Linked DNA regions of Homo sapiens: all the other regions are linked to region 1. The links are contacts of gene promoters, found by promoter capture Hi-C in blood cells and fetal thymus (Javierre and others, 2016). All regions are on one chromosome and are shown on one strand. The core of a region is centred on a gene start or on the middle of the fragment in contact, and the rest is flanking DNA. Distances in the headings are between cores, read along the strand shown.

Region 1 (3,739 bases), core at 865-3,364:
CCCTAGCCTTGAACCCTGGGCGATGAGGTGGGGGTGGAGGGGCTGGGCCTCTTCCATGTCCTTTTGCAGGACTGCCTTCCCATAAGGAGAGGCTGGGCATCACAATCTGGCTGAGAATAAAATTAAGGAGTTTCGGGGAAATGCTGCTGTGAAGAAAGACTTGGGCTTGGAACTCCCACTCTGTCTTTTTGGGGGACAACTCCTCTTTGGCAGGGAGTAGGGCAGCTGCTTTTCTGGCTCCCAAAGCCCAAGGGTGAAGAAAAGTCTGCTGGGGAAGAAGAGAGTGGAGCTTCCTAAAAGAACTGAGACCTTTGCAAGAGTGATAGAGGATGCCCCTGGGGAGGGGGGAGGGGGAAATCAGCAGTTCATGGGGGAAGTTCAAACCCCAGAGCCTCCTTCCAAAGTCAGTCGGCTTCCTGGATTTGTTAAAATGGAATGGGGAGACACGGTAAGGTGGGAAGGGTGGGAGGGGTGGAAGTAGAGGAAGGAGGAAAGGGGACACTGGTGGAACTTAAATAAGATTTTAATTGTTTTTTGTTTTAATTTTTTATTCTAGCAAACAGCCCACTGAACATGGCACTAAACCTCTCTCCTTCCCAGGCAGGATTACGCCAAAGGGTAGGTGTGCTTTTCATTCATCCTCTCTTAGTAAGTGGTGCCTGTTCAGGGCTGGAGTTAAGTTTGAGCCCCTCTTTCCACACCGTGTCCCTTGATACAACAGCAAGACCTGGCCTGAATAGAGCTGAGAAACTCGTTTAAAACAGGCAGAAGGGGGCTGGGGCAAGGGGGACCCTGTGGGAGGAGAAAGAGAGAAGCACAGAGGGACCAGGAAGGCATGGGGGGGGGTGAGGGAGCAGCTGGTGTTTCTGTTCCTCCAAATATCTGGGCTTCCTGCTCCCCCAACCCTGGAGGGTGGGGTGAGGATGAAATTAGATACAAGGAACTCTGGGGCCCTCTGGCTGTTCAATCCAACCCTCCCATCCCCCAAACCACCAAAAACAAAAAGGAAAGAAAACCCACAGGGGCACAAGCACACCCCTAAAACTCAGAAAACTCCTTGGCACACTTCTCATTGATGGAGATCCGGAGCTCTTCCTCCTCGTAGTCGTCAAAGTTACTGGCATCCCCAGGGCCTGTGTACTTCGGGATGAAGGGAGCTTCCACCTTCTTCTCATAGATGGCGATCCAGCTGGTTGTGGCGAACCACTTGTGGTTCTTGATGTCGCCAACCCCGTTCCTGAGGTTTCCGAAGCGCTTGGTGAGGTCCACCTGCAGCAGGCTCCGCAGCAGATGCTTGAGGTCAGAGCTGAGTTTGGAGGGAAACCGCACCCTCCCAGAGACGATCTTCTCGTAGATCTGGATGGGCTGGTCGGCGTAGAAGGGTGGGAAGCCCACGGCCATCTCATAGATGAGCACCCCTAGGGCCCACCAGTCCACGGCCTTGTTGTAGCCTTTGCTCAGGATGATCTCGGGGGCCAGGTACTCTGGGGTCCCGCACAAGGTCCAAGTGCGGCCCTTCACGCGCTTGGCGAAACCGAAGTCCGTCACCTGCAGGTAGCCCTGCTGGTCGATGAGGAGATTCTCGGGCTTCAGGTCGCGGTGGATGAGGTCGAGCGAGTGTAGGTACTGGACGGCCAGGACGACCTGGGCGGCATAGAAACAGGCATGGGGCTCGCTAAACCTTCCGACGCGCTGTAGGCGGGAGAACATCTCCCCACCCGGCACGTACTCCATCACCAGGTACAGGTAGGAGTTGTCCTTAAAGGAGAACTGGAGCTTGACGAGGAACGGAAAGTCGATCGCCTGCAGGATGCGCTTCTCGTTCAGTATGTGCTCGACCTGCTTCATCTTCACCACCTTCTGCTTGTTGAGGATCTTCATGGCGTAGTGGCCGCCGGTCTCCTGGTGCCTCACCAGCATCACCCGCCCGAAGGAGCCCATGCCCAGCGTCCTGAGCCGTTCGAACTGATCCGAGCTGGCGGTGTTTTGAGCGGGGTTTCCCCATCTGTAGAGGAAATCTCCTCTGGCTTTGGCTAGGAACTCGTTCACGCTCTCCTCCTGCTCGGTGTCCTTCTTGGCGGGGGCGTTGCCCATGGCGGTGGCGGCGGCAGGGGCGGGGGTCTCGCGGCGGCGGCGGCGGCGGCGGCAGCGGCGGAGATGGCGCCCCCTGGGGCTGGCTGCGCTGGCTGCGGCGCTGCGACCCCCGCCCGGCCTCCGCTTATATTCCCAGCTACATGGGAGGCTGAGATGGGAGGATTTCTTGAGCCTGGGAGGTCAAGGCTTCAGTGAGCCAAGATCACGCCGCTGCACTCAACAATATGGATAAATCCAAAAGGCATTATGCAAGTGAGAGAAGCCAACTCTAAAGGAGACTTACTGTATGAATCCATTTCTATGACATTCCAGAAAAGGCAAAACTATAGTGTGAGAGAACAGATCAGTGATTGCCAGGGCTTGGGGTTAGGGGACGGTTGGACTATGAAGGGACAGCCTGAGGGAATGTGGGAAGTGGTGGGACATGTTTGTATCCTGATTGTGCTGGTGGTTACAATGTATTGGGTGGTGGTCTACATTTGTTTTAAAACTCATAGAACTGGCCGGGCGCAGTGGCTAAAGCCTGTAATCCCAACACTTTGGGAGGCCGAGGCGGGCGGATCACAAGGTCAGGAGTTCGAAACCAGCCTGACCACCATAGTGAAACCCCGTCTCTACTAAAAATACAAAAAAATTAGCCAGGCGTGGTGGCGCATGCCTGTAATCCCAGCTACTCGGGAGGCTGAGGCAGGAGAATTGCTTGAACCTGGGAGGCAGAGGTTGCAGTGAGCAGAGATCGTGCCACTGCACACCAGCCTGGGCAATAAGAGTGAAACTCCATCTCAAAAACAAACAAACAAACAAACAAACACCTCAAAGAACTGTATACTTCCCCCCAAAATTCAGTTTTACTGCATGTAATGTTTTATTTTAACACATACATATGATTTCCTTTCTTCTGTTTGCTTTGGGTTTAATTGCTCTTATTTCCTAAGGTGGGAACTAAGGTCACTGATTTGAAATCTTTCTTCTATTACAATCACTTAGTGCTATAAATTTCCTCCTAAGTATTATTTTTTGCAGCATCCCACAAATTTTGGTATGTTGTATTTTCCTTTTCATCCAGCTCAAAATATTTTCTAAGCTCCCTTTTCATCTTCTTTGACAGATAAGCTATTTAAAAGTATATTATTTCGTTTCCAAATACTTGGGGATTTTTCAAGAATTTTCCTATTGATTTCTGATTTAATTCCATTGTTAGAAAACATACTCTGTGTGACCTAAAATGTTTTACACTTCTTGGGGCTCATTTTATGGCCCAGAATATGATCTATCTTGGTAGATGGCCCATATGCACTTGAGAAGAATGTATATTCTGGTGTATTCTGCTGTTTGAGGATACAGTGTTCTACAAATGTCACTTAGGTCAAGTTGGCTAGTAGTAGTGTTCAGGTCTTCTATATTCTTATTGACTTTCTGTTTACTTATTCTATCAATTATTAAAAACATGCCACAGGAGTTTATGAGAAGTCAAAGTACATAGATGATGGGCCTTCCATCACTCCCCCAGGCCACCATGTCAGCCGCCCCACACACCCTCCAGAAGACTGCCAGCACTCAGCCATCACAGGGTGGGTTCTGAGCTGCTCTCCCCAGTCAATTCTGTACAAAGATTCTGTCCTACATCATAAACACTGAGCTACAG
Region 2 (3,458 bases), core at 377-2,876, 140 kb before region 1:
AACCCTGTAGTGAACTGTGCATACAAGGGATCTAGGTTGTTTGCTCCTTATGAGAATGTAATGCCCGATGATCTGAGATGGAACAGTTTCATCCCAAAACCATCCCCCCATTTCCACTGTCTGTGGAAAAATTGTCTTCCACAAAACTGGTCCCTGGTGCCAAAAAGGTTGGGGACCACTGTCTTATATCATGTGGGTCAGCATACAACAGCCCATGGGACAGGCCCCGCTAACTGCCCGTTTTTGTAAATAAGGTTTAATTGGAATAAAGCCACATCCATTCATTTACAAATTGTCTGCGGCTGCTATCTACAATGGCTGCAGAGTTGAGTAATTGCTACAGAGACTGTATGGCCCACAGAGCTCGAAATATTATCTGGCCCTTTATAGAAAAAGATTGCCAAGGCTGGCTGCAGTGGCTCACGCCCGTAATCCCAGCACTTTGGGAGGCCGAGGTGGGAAGATCACATGAGCTCAAGAGTTTGAAAGCAGCCTGGGCAATATAGTGAGACCTCATCTCTTTATATTTAATAAAAATAAAAATAAATAAAAAAGAAAAAGATTACCAACTCCTGATCTATACAAACATTCTGCACCAGTTTTTATGTACATGTGGGTAGAAGACAAAGCTGCCAGCTTAGTCTTCTTGGGAGAAAATGAGAAGTGACTGCTGCTGGGCAAGCCATAATATGATGCTCCTTCAAATCAAAACTCTTTATGTCTTTGTTCAGCGTGTATTTGGTGAGGATGGGGAGAAACTGATTTCCTATTACTAAAAGCCATATACCTCTTCCTTTAGCTCAAAGGATTTATTGCATGCACTGGATATTATACAATATTCTACTTTATTTGAAGTTATCTTCAAGCACGGTTTTCCAGTATGGTAATAACTTCTTGGATGGTTTAATGTTTATATAACCGATGATGTCACATGTTCCCAGTAAATGACATCCCGGAATGCACTGTTTGGTTGGGGAATTTAAGCTGTCTTCAGATGCTGACTTTTACAGATTGGCTGTCAGCTGGTTGGTCTCTGAAGATGGTGCAGCCTCGTCTTATACAATGCAGTTCATGTGTACCCATCACAGAACTGCTCAGCAACAGGAGGTTGGCACCAGCAAGGAATGTGTCTTTTGTTTTGCTTTGTTTTGTTTTTCCATTCATGAGCACTCTCTAATTTGGCAAAAAAGAGGACCAATTTCTGTCTCTCTCTCTCTAGTTACGTAAAGAATTGTATGTGGAAACCAAGGGATATCCACCTTGGCTGAATTGGCAGAGGCAATTAATAATACCTTAAGGCCGCTTTTACAGACTGCTGTGTACGAAGGTCCAACTTGAAGACTGGGTACCATCAGTAGTTTGTTACTGGATTGTAGTGGCATTCACCCAACTGTAGTGCCACTTAAGCTTTCCTAATGTCTGCACATCAAGACAAAGCACCCTTCATTTATCCTGTCATACAGAGGGTAAGGTCATGTTTGTTGAATACAAGTGAGGGCATTTAGCATCCTTTAGCGACACTGACCACTATCACCCAGGAGTTGCGTAAGTACTAGTTTTGTCAAAAGTCCTCAGAGCCACTATTGATGGTTTGGTTACAATTTGAAATAAACAAAGCTCACTAAATGGAAAATGCTGCTCTAGAGGCAAGAAAGCTCTGAGTCTCAGCTCCAAAACTGGTCCCCTTGTGTTGTCTTTGAGATGCTAAATTAGTTTTACCCCATTGCTTACCACCACATCTCTCAGTCCAGTGCCACCAAAACTAGCACTTGGTCATCAGGCTCTAAAACCCCATAAACAAAGCTGTGTTGTTATTAGTACATAGAGAGGAGAACACCAACTGACCAAAGCTTCTGTAAGTGAAATTCTACCCACCAGCCCCTGTGGTGTGAAGGCCTCATGTGGAAGTAATTGGGATATTTGGGCAGGGAGAAACCCCTGAAACTTGTAACAGAATCCTGAAAAGGAGGAATAACAGAGGAACGTCAAGTCTAAGTTAAGCCATTCCTATCTGCTTATGACTTTTCTGCTGTTCTGATGTGAGTCTAATCTCCCAATCTTGTTTGTTCCTGATCAGTTTGGGCCATTGTTTTCCCTCCCTGGACTATGATTTATCTGCTAAATGGGGAATTCCAGATGGCGGCTAATGCTTCCTCAAGCTTCAACATTGTGTAATTCTGAACATACGTTGCCATTAAGATATATGTATTTTTAGACTAAGACAAGCAGTAGCTTTGGCCTTAAAAATGAACTTGCCTCAGAAGAGGTGAATATCAGAATGCCAGAGCTGGTCTGTGATTGAACTTTAACTGCTTCTTAGTGAATAAGTGGGGAAGAGGACAGAGAAACTTCTGTTCTTTATTTGAAATTTCTTTCTCCTTTTTTGGAGCTAAAAATGCCCTGATGTGATAGGGATTGTAACGTGTGCTTGCTTAATTGTTTAGGTTCTTACTTGGCAAAATAAATTTGGAAATCCAAGGTTGGATTCCAAACTTTTGTTGTCGAAATTTTACTGGCCCATGGGATCCAAGCATCTAGAACCACTGCTCAAAACCCCATAGCTGAGATTTCCAAAGCTTCAACTTACGCCAAGACAAGAAAGTCAGTTGTCGGGTGTTTTTTTTTTTTTTCCACACCCTACATAAGTGCATTGAAGAAATATAAGGTAAATCTTAAACTGTGAGGAGTTCTACTCTTTTTCTGACTTCATTTTTGCTAAGTCTGGATGCTGAGCACAGTTACTCAACAGGTAACTCCAGTCTCAAGCAAGGAAAGCCTGTGGACTTCAGGAGGCAAACGTTGATTGCGGTCATTGTGTTTGAATGTTGGCAGTTCTGCCATGGTGGAAGTTGCTAAGCACTTGGTACCTGTGCTGTGGAGATTCTGTGCTGAACGCCTGTGGGCTGGCACCCACATCTACACACAGTAAATGTGCCAGCGTGGGGCCTCAGAGAACCAAGGTTGTTGCCTGCTGGCTGACCTTCACTGGACTTGCTGTTTTGTTCTCTGCACTCGTGCTCCCCTGACAAATATCCGGGCCCAGCAGGGGCCAGCGATCTCATTAATTTGCATTTCCTTCACTAGAGCTTCATTCATGTCAAGCTGGTATTTGTTATTCATTGGAACAGCTTAAATATGCAGAGGTAAACAAACCTTCTGCTGTGGTGCTGAGCACGGAGGGCTCAGTTTGGGGGAAGAGGAATCAGTTTATGGCTTTTAACCTCTAACTTTTTAAATTTATTTAATTTTGTGAATGATAATACACAGCAAGGCTTGTCCTGTTCTTAAAAGGAATACTGTGAAGAGTTCCTTTTGTCCCTGTGCCTTTTTTTCAGTGTCCAGCTCCAGTTATCACTGTTACTTGTGGCTGTTTTTTCCTTCAAGGATTTTTTATGTATATGCATGCCAAAAGAATATTTGTTTTCTTTTTTATGCAAGTGGTGACATCCCCTACACAG
Region 3 (3,192 bases), core at 275-2,774, 200 kb before region 1:
TCTAGAAGAAGAACTATAATACTTCCTATCTTCCCAGCAAAACTGTTTACCAGGCTGACGTTTTCCTAAGAATAGCTCCCTAGGTTTTCATGAATCCATATAAATTTCCACACATTTGTTTTTTATTCTGGCACAAAATTTAAGAGGGACTTACGATCATAGGTGGAAGGAGCAATGAGGAAGTCTGTTGGTAACCCTTTAGGTAACATCCTAAACCTCGGGCTACTTGCGGGCAAATTGTTAAAATGCAGGACTCATGATCTCTGAGTACACCCATGAAAATTTAAATACCCTTCACGGTGCTGGGTCTTTTTGTAAGCAAGCCAACACGGTGCCCAGACTCTTTTCCACCCTCTAGCTCTCAACCTTATGTCCCCAGCAAACGGCTCTAAGTCCAATTTCAGTGTTCTTCATAAGTGAAGCTTTCCATGAGCCCCACAGGCTGACTTATGCAGTTCCTCCTCCAAAAACCCAGAGTAAAGGACATGCCACATTGTAAATTGTAGCCACTGCAATGCCTGTCTCTCCTGCTAATAGGATTCCTTTGAAGACGAGTACCTGTCCTTGTCATTATGGCCCCGGGCCTAGCTTACTGCCTGACATGTTATGCTCCATAAATGTTCATTGAATGAATGAAAGAGTGAATTTATTTGGTGTTAGGTAATAAAAATGAATTCAAAAGAGCATAAATAAAACAAAAATGATTGACTTTAACATGCAGGTGTGACCAAGGCCCAAATTATCTTCCAATTGCTTTGTCTTTCGGGAAATGCGCTAGGAAATGTTAACATACACAGCCTGAATGGCATGAAAATATTTGAATATGGCTATCCTATTGGAAGCCCAATTCCCATAGGGCAAGTTGCACTCATAATGACCAAATAATCAATGAGTCCTCTCCTCATTCCAAAGAGGATTTGAAGTGAGGCCCTACCTAAGAAACTTGGCAGAGGCACCAAAACAAAAGCACTATCTAATGGAGTTAGCGCAATTCATAATCGAAGAGAAGTGGACAGCAGCAGAGATGGACATGAAACCCAGGCCTTCGGAGGCCTATCCCAGCGTTCTTCCAATTCATTCTTGTTGCTTCACTTTATCAGTGTTTAATAAAGTGTTTGTTTTTATGGGAAGATGAGTAAGGACTCGTGGCTAGTGTCCCTTAACCTCTTGTGTCTACAGATTGGCCTACTTAGTTAAGTGATTAGGTAATTAGCAATTCTCCCACTTATTTGGCCATGTATGAGAAGCAAACTCATCTGTGGCAAATTAAAAATACTGAGTTTTATGGCCCTAGTTGGGGAATTAGAGGTTGAAAGGGTTGCTTCTGACTCACATATGGCCCCCAGGCACAATATATCTAAAACTTTCGGTAACTATAGAGTTTTAAAAAGCTCCTCTACCACCTTTTCAATTAAGACATGCCCTCTGGGTTGAGGCTTACTGATGTAGAACAAGTTTTATAGGAAAAAATTATGTAAATTAATATAATTGGCTAACCTTTTGATTGCACTTACAAATTGAAAAATGCGGTGCAATATTGATTAGACAATCTTCTCATTGTTTTTAAGTAGGAGAAAACAAGTAAAAGAGAGAGGTGTATGGTGGAAAGAGCATTAGTTTTGAAGTCAGACAACCCTGGATCAAATCTCAGCCCTACCACTTGACTGGACTCCAGGAAAATCATCCCAAGTCACAACCTCGCTCCTCTCCTTCCTCCTAGACTTAATGCAGGGGCTGCAGTAGACCCTGACTACTTGGTAGTGATCTATTTAAGCTCTTAACGGATTCCCAGAGCTATAACAATAGAAACGTGTGTACCAGTTCCTAGCCTACCTCCCAATCCACATTTCCATTGAGAATCATGTTTCTCAGGCTTATTCCCCTACTGCTTTCCCACTTTCATTATACTTTCTGTTTTGTTTTATGGCCCATCATTGGGTCGTTTGTCCTTAGAGCCATTCCTTACTCTTCCTGTGTTCTGTATCACAGGGAAGTCATCCCATATAGGATGCATTTCTCAGGCTTCCTATGGGCTCAGATGCTTTTCATGAGGTTGGTCTCTGGGAGCCATAGACAGGGATTGGCGGGTAGAAGGTAGATGAGAAAAACCAGGATGTTCTCCCCCAACCTGTGTGTCTTAGGTGGCATCTCCAATAGTGACTGTCTTCTCCATGCTTCTAAACATACCCCTCCTACTGCAGTTCCAACTTCTGCCAGTCAACCCCCGTCCTGATGTTCTGACCCCAGCTGACCTCTGCTTTTGAGGTCTGTTAACACCACCTTCTCTTGTGCCTGCAGCCCTAAAAGCAATAGTGGCATCATGTTGATTGTGATCTGTTTCATCACCATCTCTTGCTTAGCTTTTCAGTTCACCCATCACTTTTATAACCAATTCCATGTATTAAATATCCCCTCTTTAATATACCCAAAGTGGTTTCTGTTTTCCCTAATAGACCCTGAAAGCAATCCTGAAGTGATAAACTCTCTTTATTGCCTTTTCTGGTCACAGTAGCTTAGATGATCCCAAGCCTGTGAAGCGTGCTGAAAATACTGACTCCCTAGGTCTACCACGCAGAGGTAGTGATTCCCTGGTTTCAGTGTGTGGCCCCAGAAGCTGAATTTTCAAAAAGCTTCCCTGGTGGTTGTAATGCCCAGCACTGATTTAGAGAATGGCAAAGCCAGGCTGAGATGGAGGTGCGTGGGGTGGGAATGGATGGTTGCTAGGTTCATTCACCAACTAAGGGCGTCACTTTTACAAACCAGCCTCACAGCAAGAGAGCCCAGCTCAGCAAAATTAAAATGACTGCATCCCATGGACTTTATAGGACACTTACAAGTGTCAAAATAGCACATGTTAAATTGGGGAGTGCCAACGGATTCTTTGAAGAATAAATGAAATCACATATGTGGCAGCATTTCACACATCGTAGTTGCTCAATACATGATCTTCCCTTCTCTCAAATTGAGTGAAAACATAGAACTATAGAAAGCTATGAAATAGTATAAATTATTTATTCCTTAAGGTCACAGAATCCAGATACTAAATACCAGAAATAATAGATAAGTAACTACATAGTCAAAAAAAAGTCATTGTCTGGCACATATTATTGCTCACTGAGCTGGTGCTAAACAGTCCAATCATATGACACCATAGGTTAGCTCTCTTTCATATCAGAAATAATTTTTGAAAAT

Evidence for each region. The method cuts DNA at HindIII sites, captures the fragments that hold promoters and counts their contacts. A CHiCAGO score of 5 or more calls a contact.
Region 2: a fragment that was not itself captured here is called in contact with the fragment with the promoter of PRKACG in region 1 in 1 of 17 cell types (erythroblasts); the score reaches 5.7 in erythroblasts.
Region 3: a contact is called between a fragment that was not itself captured here and the fragment with the promoter of PRKACG in region 1, in 2 of 17 cell types (megakaryocytes and erythroblasts). The highest score is 7.0, in megakaryocytes.

Annotation. Positions count from the first base shown.
Region 1 is chr9:69,011,999-69,015,737 of GRCh38, forward strand. It overlaps PRKACG (protein kinase cAMP-activated catalytic subunit gamma), which reads right to left and starts at 2,115. Exons shown (of 1, transcript NM_002732.4): 1 at 506-2,115. The coding sequence starts at 2,094. The coding sequence ends at 1,039. The HindIII fragment of the contact is 8,295 bases long and covers 1-3,739 here.
Region 2 is chr9:68,869,292-68,872,749 of GRCh38, forward strand. The region is part of intron 5 of PIP5K1B (phosphatidylinositol-4-phosphate 5-kinase type 1 beta); the gene reads left to right. Among named protein-coding and RNA genes, the nearest start is that of PABIR1, 91 kb to the left of the region's middle. RefSeq lists an enhancer at 2,851-3,435. The HindIII fragment of the contact is 443 bases long and covers 1,406-1,848 here.
Region 3 is chr9:68,809,355-68,812,546 of GRCh38, forward strand. All of the region lies in intron 2 of PIP5K1B (phosphatidylinositol-4-phosphate 5-kinase type 1 beta), which reads left to right. Among named protein-coding and RNA genes, the nearest start is that of PABIR1, 31 kb to the left of the region's middle. The HindIII fragment of the contact is 2,208 bases long and covers 421-2,628 here.